3 separate regions of the Homo sapiens genome follow, and regions 2 and 3 are each linked to region 1. The links are contacts of gene promoters, found by promoter capture Hi-C in human tissues and cell types (Jung and others, 2019). All regions are on one chromosome and are shown on one strand. The core of a region is centred on a gene start or on the middle of the fragment in contact, and the rest is flanking DNA. Distances in the headings are between cores, read along the strand shown.

What was found. The method cuts DNA at HindIII sites, captures the fragments that hold promoters and counts their contacts. A contact is called where the count stands out against the background at its distance.
Region 2: a fragment that was not itself captured here is called in contact with the fragment with the promoter of CCDC126 in region 1 in 2 of the 25 tissues and cell types used here (lymphoblastoid cells and thymus).
Region 3: a contact is called between a fragment that was not itself captured here and the fragment with the promoter of CCDC126 in region 1, in 1 of the 25 tissues and cell types used here (mesenchymal stem cells).

The regions. Positions count from the first base shown.
Region 1 is chr7:23,595,925-23,599,446 of GRCh38, forward strand. CCDC126 (coiled-coil domain containing 126) reads left to right here and starts at 1,458. Exons shown (of 4, transcript NM_138771.4): 1 at 1,458-1,681; 2 at 2,043-2,127. LOC105375187 (a long non-coding RNA gene) reads right to left here and starts at 1,401. Exons shown (of 2, transcript XR_927098.2): 1 at 1,193-1,401. RefSeq lists a silencer at 1,700-1,939. The HindIII fragment of the contact is 2,823 bases long and covers 668-3,490 here.
Region 2 is chr7:24,411,216-24,414,737 of GRCh38, forward strand. The region is part of intron 1 of LOC107986777 (a long non-coding RNA gene); the gene reads right to left. Among named protein-coding and RNA genes, the nearest start is that of NPY, 130 kb to the left of the region's middle. The HindIII fragment of the contact is 7,052 bases long and covers 1-3,522 here.
Region 3 is chr7:24,130,620-24,134,141 of GRCh38, forward strand. It overlaps the pseudogene RNA5SP228. Among named protein-coding and RNA genes, the nearest start is that of NPY, 150 kb to the right of the region's middle. The HindIII fragment of the contact is 3,348 bases long and covers 178-3,522 here.

The DNA.
Region 1 (3,522 bases), core at 208-2,707:
GTAGCAGGGACTATAGGTGCATGCCACCACAACTGGCTGACTTTGGTATTTTTTTGGGGGGTACAGATGGGGTTTTGCCATGTTGCCCAGGCTGGTCTTGAACTCCAGGCTCAAGCAATCCACTTGCCTCAGCCTCCCGAAGTGCTGAGATCATAGGCATGGGCCACCGTGCCTAGTCTATAATAAAGCTTGTTATCCGGTAGCACAAGTTTTCCTCCTCCCACTCCTTCTCCTCTTCTTTTTTTTTCTTCCTCCTCTTCCTCATGAATGCTTGTCTTTGCTCTTCCATAACATTTTGAATTAGCTTGTCAAGTTTCTCACACATACACAGAAATTTATTGAGATTTTGTTGGGAATTGCACTGGCTCTGTAGGTAGGTTTGGAGAGACTTGGCATTTTTCAGTATTGACTCTTCCAATTTATGAACATGTTACATCTTTATTTAGGTCTTCTTCAGTGTCTTCCAATGTTTTCTTCAGGCAGGTTTTGCATTTCTTTGATCGATTTATTCCTAGGTACTTGATATTTGTTTGGAGCTGTTGGAAATGGTATCTTTAAAAAAATTATCTTTTTTACTAGCATATATAAATAAATATTGATTTTTTAAAATATGATTTTTGTATCTATTAACCTTGTTAAAAACTTTTATTGTTAACAGTTTATCTGCAGATTGTTTTGAAGTGCCACAAACAATTTTTTTTTTTTTTTGAGACGGAGTTCTGCTCTTGTTGCCCAGGCTGGAGTGCAGTGGCGCGATATCAGCTCACTGCAACCTCCGCCTCCTGGGTTCAAGCAATTCTCCCGCCTCAGCTCCCCGAGAGGCTGGAATTACAGGCGTCCGCCACCTCGCCCTGCTAAGTTCGTATCTGTAGTAGAGACGGGGTTTCACCATGTTGGCCAGGCTGGTCTCGAATTCCCGACCTCAGGTGATCCTCCCGTCTTGGCCTCACAAACTGCTGGGATTACAGGCATGAGCCAACGGCGCCCGGCCTCCACGTACATAATTACATAATCTATGAAAAAATAATTTTGTTTCTTCCTATTTAATCTTCAATCCTTTTATTTTTCTTGCCTCACTCCACTGGCTAAGGACCTTTGGCTTCAATAATGGGTAGTCTCATCTGTAGCACACTTAATCATCACTAAGCTTTCCCAGCCTCAGGTCAATAGTATTAGGAGGTTGGTTCCTCACCGGAGGGTCGGGAACAAGACGCCAGAGCCCTTCTTCCAGCGCCTGCAGCGAGTTAAGGCCGAGGGTATGCCTCTGGCGGGCTCATCTTCCAACACAGAAGACCCCGCCGCCCTCTCTGGTTGCCGCGCAGCTGCGTCGTTCTGACCCAGGGTAGGTGCAGGGCGGCTGGAAGCACGTGCCGCCGCTTCCTCATTCTGGGACTACATCCCCCACAATGCCGCGCGCCGCGGGCGGCTGGCCCCCGAGTGCGGGAAGGGCCGGCAGGGAGGCGGAGCGGAAGCCGAGTGCGAGGGACGAGCGGAGTAAAATCTCCACAAGCTGGGAACAAACCTCGTCCCAACTCCCACCCACCGGCGTTTCTCCAGCTCGATCTGGAGGCTGCTTCGCCAGTGTGGGACGCAGCTGACGCCCGCTTATTAGCTCTCGCTGCGTCGCCCCGGCTCAGAAGCTCCGTGGCGGCGGCGACCGTGACGAGAAGCCCACGGCCAGGTAATGAGTAAGGGGCGAGTCCGCCAGCCGGGCCCGCACCTCTCGCGCGCCCCTCAGCCTAGCCGGCCGCTCCTCCCCCGCCGCGCCCCCGTCCCCGGTCCCCGCCCCGCTAGGGCCGCTGCTGCGGAAACCCGGCTTAGGAACGGGCCGGCAGCCTCCGGCCGCGGCCGGGAAGGCTCTTTGTCCCTTCCTTTGGGCCGCGTCTCTGCCCCTCCGCGTCTGACAGCCGCGGCGCCTCGGCTCGGGCGGAGAGCCGAGCGTGGCTGGGGCTGCGCGAGTCGAGCGGGGCGGGCTTGGTCCGGAGCTGCGGGATGTAGATCCCGGGCGGCACCGCACTCACTTCTTTTTCTGTTTTTGACAGCTCAGTTCTCTTCTACTTTGGGAGAGAGAGAAAGTCAGATGCCCCTTTTAAACTCCCTCTTCAAAACTCATCTCCTGGGTGACTGGTAAGGATGAACTTAAACTGCCGTGTTGATTGTTGACTGTGACGGTAATGAGAATGGCTCAGCCAGCTAGGGTTCGAATCCTGCCTGGGTTTCTCTCACTGCCTGCCTTGGTGATCTTGGTTACTTAAAGGCTCTAAGCTTGAGTTTTCTCATCCATCAAAACACACACCTGTAAGTGGTTAGAATTAGGAATATAGACCTATAACGTCATTAGTTCTTCATTTGATGAAAAGATCCTTTGTGATACTTTCATTAGCTATGACTGAAGTGACCGAAGTGGCCTCTGGACTTGAGTTTTGTGCTTTTGTTTGTTTAATCATCCTGGGTTGTGTGTTCTTCACTTTATCTTAAACCTAACCAAAGGATTCATTAAAATATGCCGTCTTCCTAATTTTTGCTGTTTTAAGATGGCTGAGAATGTTCTTAGGAAATTGATGACTCTGCTTTTCTGTGGATCAGCTTCAGAGGTACAAGTATTCACCTCTCCCCTCCCCCTCAGGTGTGTCCTTTGGGAATCCTTAGAGGCGCTAAGTGTTTGTTTCGTCAGAGTAGGCATCCAGGTATTTTACAGTCCTGCCTCTGGGCTTCACCATATTTAACCTGGGTCAACTTTTTTCTACATCTGTCTGCATCTTCTCACTGATTAATAATTTCTCACTCTAAAATGTGTTGCAAAAATACTTGTTTTGAGGAAAATGTTTCTATGTTGGTGTTATTTAGTGCAGTGTAGGACAGAGAGTAATGGCTACGGAAATAGGAGTCCTTAGTTTTGTCCTTGCTCTGTCACTATCTGTGTAACCTGAGATTACTTTGTGGTCCTCAATGTCCTCATCTCTAAAATAGTGAATTGGTCTGATTCCAAGGACTCTTCTAGCTCAGACTTTCAATGATAAAGGTTTTTAGAGGTTTTTTTTTAAATGTGGAAACAAAATTTGTGTAAACCCTTTTAGTCATTTGTGTTCTTAGTGTTTCTTCCTGCTTCAGGTCATATAATTCTTTCAAACTACCTTGAAAGAAGGAATACATTTAAGAGAACAAGAAAGCTGCCAGAAATAAGAATCTCTACCAGCCAGTTATCACTCTCTCATGAGCTGCACAGTTTCTCTGCATTTTTGACATGCTTTGTTCTCTTTCTCCCTACTCTGTATCTTTTGCTCATAGCCCCTATACCTGTTGTGCCTGATTCTTCATAACTTTAGCTTGTCAATCCCCTCATCCAACTTTATTATTTATTTTCATGACTTCTCCTTCAGCTCCTTCTGCCAACTGCCTGGTTTTCCCTGGGGCCTCTTTGTTTGAGGCCAGAGATGCTAGCCTAGTTGGCTTTGGAAGGGGAGGTGGGGACATGTGGCACAAAACATGATTGGCCACGGCTGTGACAGGTGAAGCTCTGTG
Region 2 (3,522 bases), core at 390-2,889, 820 kb after region 1:
TCCAAGATGGAAATTCATGCCTAAAGAGTTTGGTTTGGGCTACTGAAAGCCTTTTTGCTGTGTGTAACTGAGGAGGAAGTAGAGATTAATTTGGCTCATTTTCAGCCCAACTTATTTCCAGACCGTGGAATCTATCAGTGTAAATTTTAAGTCTGGGAAGGCTGCTTTTTATTTAAAAGACAACACTGGAGGTGACGGTGCTTTTAACTATGCAAATATAATGAAGCTCCCAACTTAGTAATGGTTCACTTAACCTAAAGTAAACTGAAAAGCCAGGCAGTGAGCCCTGTGCTTTATTGACTGAAGGCCATATAATGAATTTCCTTTTAAAAAGTGCATTTCATGTTGCCTTTATTTACTGATTTCTCACGAATAATCAACTTTAACCATTTTTAACTACTATTTTAACCATTTTAAACATAGTTGCAGAAACTTCTGATTCAAGGTGATAGACTGACTTCATATTTTCATATCCTCTCTCTCCATAGGCCTCCAGGGGAAGGTAAATGAGGTCATTCATTTATTCACTGCTACAGCATCAGGCACAGTTCTGGGTAAAAGTATCATGGTAATAGGCAAGACAGATAAAGACTATTCTCACAACACTTGAACATCCTAGATGAGTAGAGGTAGATGATAAACAGAATATGAACCTGAAATTACTGAGACTGAGATAGGTATTATGACCAAAGTGAAACAGGATGATTTTATAGAAAGTAAATTGGCAGCCATATCGTCAGGGACATTTAAGCTAAGACCTCAATGACAAGAAAGAATTAGCCCTGTAAAAATAGGAGGCAACAGCTATGGTAAAATCATTAAAATGAGAATGTGCTTGACCTTTTTAAGAAATCAAAAGTAGGCCCGTGTGATTGAGCATACTGAGAGAGGGGAAGAATAAATGGAGTTGAGAAGAAAGATCAGGGCAGATCATATGTGGCCTGTAGGAAGCCTGGAGTAAGAAGTAGGAGCACATTGTATAGGACCATGGCCCATGGAGACCACAGAAAGTGGGGACCAGATGGCATAGGCCCATGGCCCAGGGTAAAGTGTTTGGATTTTATGTTAAGAAAGCAGAGAAGTCCTTAGAGCATTTTAATCAAGGCTCAAAATACCCTTATTTGTGCTTTTAAAAGGGCATTCTGTGCAGAAGAATTCCAAGTTATTTATGTGGATACTTTGCCCTCAACGTAGTGGAACACAACTCCCTACTCCTTAAGTGTGTACTGGACATAATTACATTCTTCTTAAGAGTACTATATGGAAAGGATGGGAAAAGTAACTTTACAGTGGAGAAACCTGAAAACACTACCTTAGCCAGATGGTCAAAGTCAACATCAATGGTGATAAGTCATGTTGATAGTATATACCTTTGATATGATGTAATAAGAATGATACTTTACCTCGTCGTCTCCCACTCCAAAATTCATAACTTCAGTCTAAACATGAAAAAAAATCGGACAAATCCCAGTGATGGACATTCTACAAAATACCTGACCAGTACTCCTCGAAGTCATCAAAATAAGAAAAGTCTGAGAAAAAAATCCAGCCAAGAGGAGCCTAAGGAGAATGATGACTAAATCTAACGTGGGATCTTGGGTCAGAAAAAGGACGTTAGGTAAACACTAAGGGAGTCTGAGCAAAGTATAAGTATGAGCTTTAGTTAATAATAATGTACCAGTATTTATTCATTAATTATGACAAATACACCATACTACTATGTTAGTAACAGAGGAAATTGGGGGTAGGATATATGGGAACTTTCTGTACTATCTTCACAATTTTTCTGTAAATCTAAAACTGTTCTACAATTAAAAGTTTATTTTAAAAAAGTCTATTCTAGCTGCCATGTGCAAACTGAACTCTGGAGCACAAAAACAGCACTTTCTCATTCTAGTATCCCCTGGGTCCCTGAAAACCAGATTCTTTGTATTTTAAAAAGGAATTACAGATATAAGATAGAAGAGTTCATACTAATACTTGCCATTTAAATCCAAGACTACAGAGCTTTTACATAATCTGCTCTACCTCAGGCTAATTGGAGGATTGTTCTCTACAGAAATAAATGATTACAGGGCAAAGGTCTCTGAATTCAAGCATTTTTGGAACTCTCAGAATAAGAGCCAGTTTCATGCCTGATGACCCTAAAAAGAAGCCTGCCAATCAGTAACCTGCCTCATATCAGGTTCTTAATAAGTTTCAAGGCCTTACCCTTAAAATGTGTGGATAGCCAAGAAAGATGAGACATCCAAGGAAAGCCTTGGACACGGAAGAAAGAACCAAGAAAAACACAGGGAAAAAGCATAACACCAGAAGGAACATATAATTCAAGAAACAAAAGAAAACTTAAAGGAAAATAAATTAATGATTATCTTCGGGGATATTTGAGAAGATATTGCATGATGAAAACATAACAGAATGCTATGAAAAAAATGGAGGAAATAACCCTTAGATATAAAAGATATATTTAATAATAACTGAAATAAAGAGTTAAGTTCAAATAGTAAAGAGTTAAGTTCAAAGACAAATTTAGAATTATCTTTCAGAAAGAAGTATCCCAAAAAAGAGATGGAAAATATAACAAAAATAATTAAAGGTTATGGATTATCATTCTAGAAGATCTGACATCAGACTAATAAGAGACCGAAAAGAAAAGAAAACAAGGAAAAAAATGATCAAATGAAAAATATGAGAGAATTTCCAAGATCTAAAGTACAGGGGTGCTCATACTTAGAAAATCCAGCAAGTGCCCAGCCTAGTAAAATAAAAACATTCACAGCAGGTTGTGAAATGTCAGAATATTAATTTTTAAAAAAATATCTGAAAATCTTCCCACCAGAGAAGCTTCCCTGGTCCTGTACAAGAAACAAAATACCACACTAGCCTCAAGGTTTCTCATGAAGTTAGAAGACACTGAAGAAGGGACTCAACATTTCTGACAGAAAACCATTTTCACTTATCATTCTATACCTAGCCAAACTGTCAATCAAGTGGGAAACTAGAATAAATACATGTTTAAATCTACACAGGCTTGGAAATTCATAGCCCACACCAGTTACCATAGGAGATGACTTGATGTGACCCAGAACAAAAAGTAAAGGAAATCAAAGAAAGAGGAGGCTGCCCTGAAGCCTCAAGTACTCAATGGTGCAGTAAGAAACAAAATACAAGAGTTGGGATTTGTAATTATAGAGTAGCAAGATATTTGGATCCTAGAACTCAACATCAAGGCCAGATGGCATGGCTTGGAACACCCTGGTTCCCTCCTTTGAAAGGGGAAAAAGGCAGAAAGCCTGCCGTTCTAGGGTTCCCTGACCAGTCAGGTCACTTACCCTCCTGGCTGCTGGGACCCCTAGATTTTTACGAGAAACAAGGGAAGCTGTGAGGTGGGAGATGGAGGAGGTGAAGCTCACTGATACCATTATATATCATTAATCTCATGGGCAGCCTTTGAAATAACACTAAACTGAAGTCAATGTAATCGTGCCCAATTCTAGGTTGTCCTCTTTCCTTGCCTTGCCT
Region 3 (3,522 bases), core at 602-3,101, 540 kb after region 1:
ATAGAGACAGCAGGTGTATTCTTAGATTATAGGAATTTAGTAGTAAAGAGAAATATATGTCAGCTATGGACACTGGGTGATTGTTTGATTTATCTTATCTCTGGTTATAGCCTTTCTAGTGTAAACCCCATGGTACTGCATACACTACTAGAATTGCCTTTTCTGCTTGGAAATATGCTGACTGGCCCAACTCCTACATATATTGCAGCAGGAGTCTCAGTATATGGCTCAGCAGGTTGTAGATTGCACAATGCATGCAAATGGTGTGAATGATGTTCCTGAGAATTGTACAGTGTACAGCCTGAGCAACCATATACAGCAACCCTGATTTTAGCACTCTGTTTTGAAGCAGAGAAGTAAGTATGTGCTACATTGTTTGTTTGACTCTGAATATATTCCTTTTTGTCTGGCAAGGTTGGGGAAATGATGCATCTGTCTTCTCTCATTTATGGCCAGAGTATAAATATCATTAAAAAGTAAATAATGACAAAAATAAATCTTATAAGCATATCTCTGACAGTAGTAGTAGCTGTCTTGAGGAGAACATATGGTCATTGGCTGAGTATGGGATAATAAACACATAGAGAGAAATTCAATAGAAACTCAAGGTCATAAATGTAATGATTCTCCATTGGAGAGCAGTACACAGTTATTATTTTCAAGTAATATTCCTTGCTTCACAGGAGTAAACAAGGCTGGATACTTAAAACATCTTGCAAAATCATTACCTGGTAGAAGCATTAAGCAGGCTTGAATTTAATAGCATTAAAGCTACAGGGAAAAATGTAAAAATTGTTCTTAGAAAATTGATCTTAATATATATTAACATTCTGATATATGTCAAGTATTAAAGTTGAACACATGAGTGTATATGGAAAATCAGAAAATGAAAAAATAACTTAATCTAAACTTCTCATTTTACAGAAGAAGAAACCGGACATAACAAGTAATTTGTCTAAAGTCACACAACTAGTTTGTATCAAAATTGGAACTAGACATTTAGATCCTTACTAAATGCAGCCACCAGCAGCTATTTACAAAATCATATTCTAATACATAAAAAATCTTCTAAATAAGGGAGTTTAGATGAATTGTTTTGCAAATTAAATCCATATGTATCCTACTTCAAGCAAATCTGAAATGTAAAATTACAGATTTACAAAATATATAAATTAGAAGATAACTTTAAGGTGATTATATGTATTACATATATAGATGTATATATAATAATAACTGGAATCATATATATATATGATCCCCTTAAATAGCAAACGCTTCCTTTTCTGGATTCTTTTACTTAAAATGCAACCTGACTCACAAAAGTTCAGTCAGCTTACACATTTAAAAAAGAATCTACTGTACAAAGCAAAGTTTATCTGTAAGTGTCATCCAATTTGTAACTTTTAAAACTCCCATTTTCATATGTTCTACAGAGAAGCATAGCACTAAAAAGGATTTATTAGTTTTCTTGAATATCTGGACCATCTTAAAGATTAGCACTTCAGAGCTGGCAAGCACAAGACTTCTAATTATGGCTCTAGCTGTAGTAGGATTCTGAATACATTTTCCCACATCTATTTCCTGAACCTTCTGCATTTGAGTGTTTTCCTTAGTGATGAATGAATGTGTAGAATATGGATGTTTTTTGCATGTGATCTTGACCTAAGTATTATGGATGCAAATGGTATCAGATAAGTTTCCTTGTTCCAAGTTTCATGTCAGAATTCAGCTCCTATTGAACAGAGCCCTGTTTGGCTGAATAGAGAGAAATTTTCTAAGATTGGTAGAAATGGCCTCAAAAGATTTTGAATTCCATTGGTGTTCAGTATGTTGCAATAATGAAATTTTGCTGAAATTTCCTTTAATATTCAGGAATCGGTTGAGCAGAGAGGGATTTTATCAGAAATTTAATTCCCACTGACCCCACAGGGTGGCTGGGAGAATCCAATAAGATGATGGGAGCAAAAGTGCCTTGTAAATGGTAAAGAACCACATAAAAATGCCATGTAACCAGATTTAAGCTTTAGGTTGGCCAGACATGTGTTGAGTAAGGACATTACTACAGGAGCATTAGTAAGGGGATATTATCACAGCTATGCTGCCCCGAACATGCCCCATCTCCTCTAATCTCAGAAGCTAAGCAGGGCAGGGCCTGGCTAGTACTTGGATGGGAGAAAGGGAACATCAGAGGACTTGCAGAGTCATGGTAGTGAGATGATTTTAACCCCTTCTGCTTTGGGAAGGGCAGGAATGTACTATTTACGGTTTGCAGTCCAGCGCAAGAGCCCCAGATAGGAGGTGGTTGTGGTCTAGAGTTGGCTAGTCTAGGGTCAGCAAGGCCCCAGATGTCAAAACATCAAAAATACAGAAAATAAAAAGGACATGCTTACTACAAGAGAACACGTTAAATGAAGATTTCTACTGCTTAGGCTGATGGCCTGTCAACACAACCTCCCAGTGTATACTAAAGAGACTGTGAAGTCCCCTCAAATGACCCCATCTTGGGATGGCTTAGAGGCCTAGGAGGTGGGGCAAGTACCCAGGGGAGGAGGCAGGGGGCAGATGCCACACAGGGGCCTAAGAAGCTGTGGAAAGTCTGAAAAGGACTTCCTTAGGAGGACTCTTGATGTGGTGATTAACTGACATAATAACCTTTTTCCTACCAGTTTTGGAGATTGCTGAGAAACACTTTCTCTACCTGGTCAGATTTAAAGGAGCACTGTGATATGGGTTTTTAATTTGATGCAGTACTCAGCAGGTATAACAACAATTGTGTTTTTCTTACTAGAAAGACCTTTCTCTTGTGTCTTTTAAGGTTTCGTAGAGAAAAGGTGGATCACTCTGTGTTCTTTTCTCCTTTAGGCCATTTCTAAAGAAAAAAAAATCAGGTCTTCTGTGCTCACAATGCCTTAGCTATATATGTAGGTATATAGGATCAACAACTTATGCAAGAGAACTCAGTCATGCCAGGAAGACCAGCAAAAGCCTGGTTCCTGCAACTGTTCTGGGACCAAGCCTCCCTTCTTCCTGCCAGTGGTGGGCCATGGCCAGGGAAATGTAAATTTGCCATTTAAAGATCCTAGCCTTCTTTGGTTTGAACATCTCCATTGAGTAAATGATCTACATCAGCCTTATGGGCTTCTCTACCCTGGCATCTCTCAGTCAAAATGGTGTCTGGATGAGGGCAGGAGCTTTAGGGGAAGGAAGTTGGTCTGTGTGGGTTTCTGTGTGGTCGCCGGGTTTCTCTTCCTCTGTGGGGATGCCATTAGTCTCCTTGGTCACTGGGTATCCTGCTCGTGTCTGCTGTCATAGTCCACCCTGGGGTAAGCTTCTGGTCTTTCTAGGGGACACATCAGGGACAGGCTATTTCCTATCCCATCTCCTGCGGGCTCTCCTCTGAACTGCTCTTTTTCCAACAGTAGGGCTTTCCCCATCCTTCCTGTCTGGTGGGCTACCCCCTACTCCCTTCCCAGCAGAGCCTCACTTTTCTTCCCTGTGCGATGAACTTCCCCTGATTTGGGC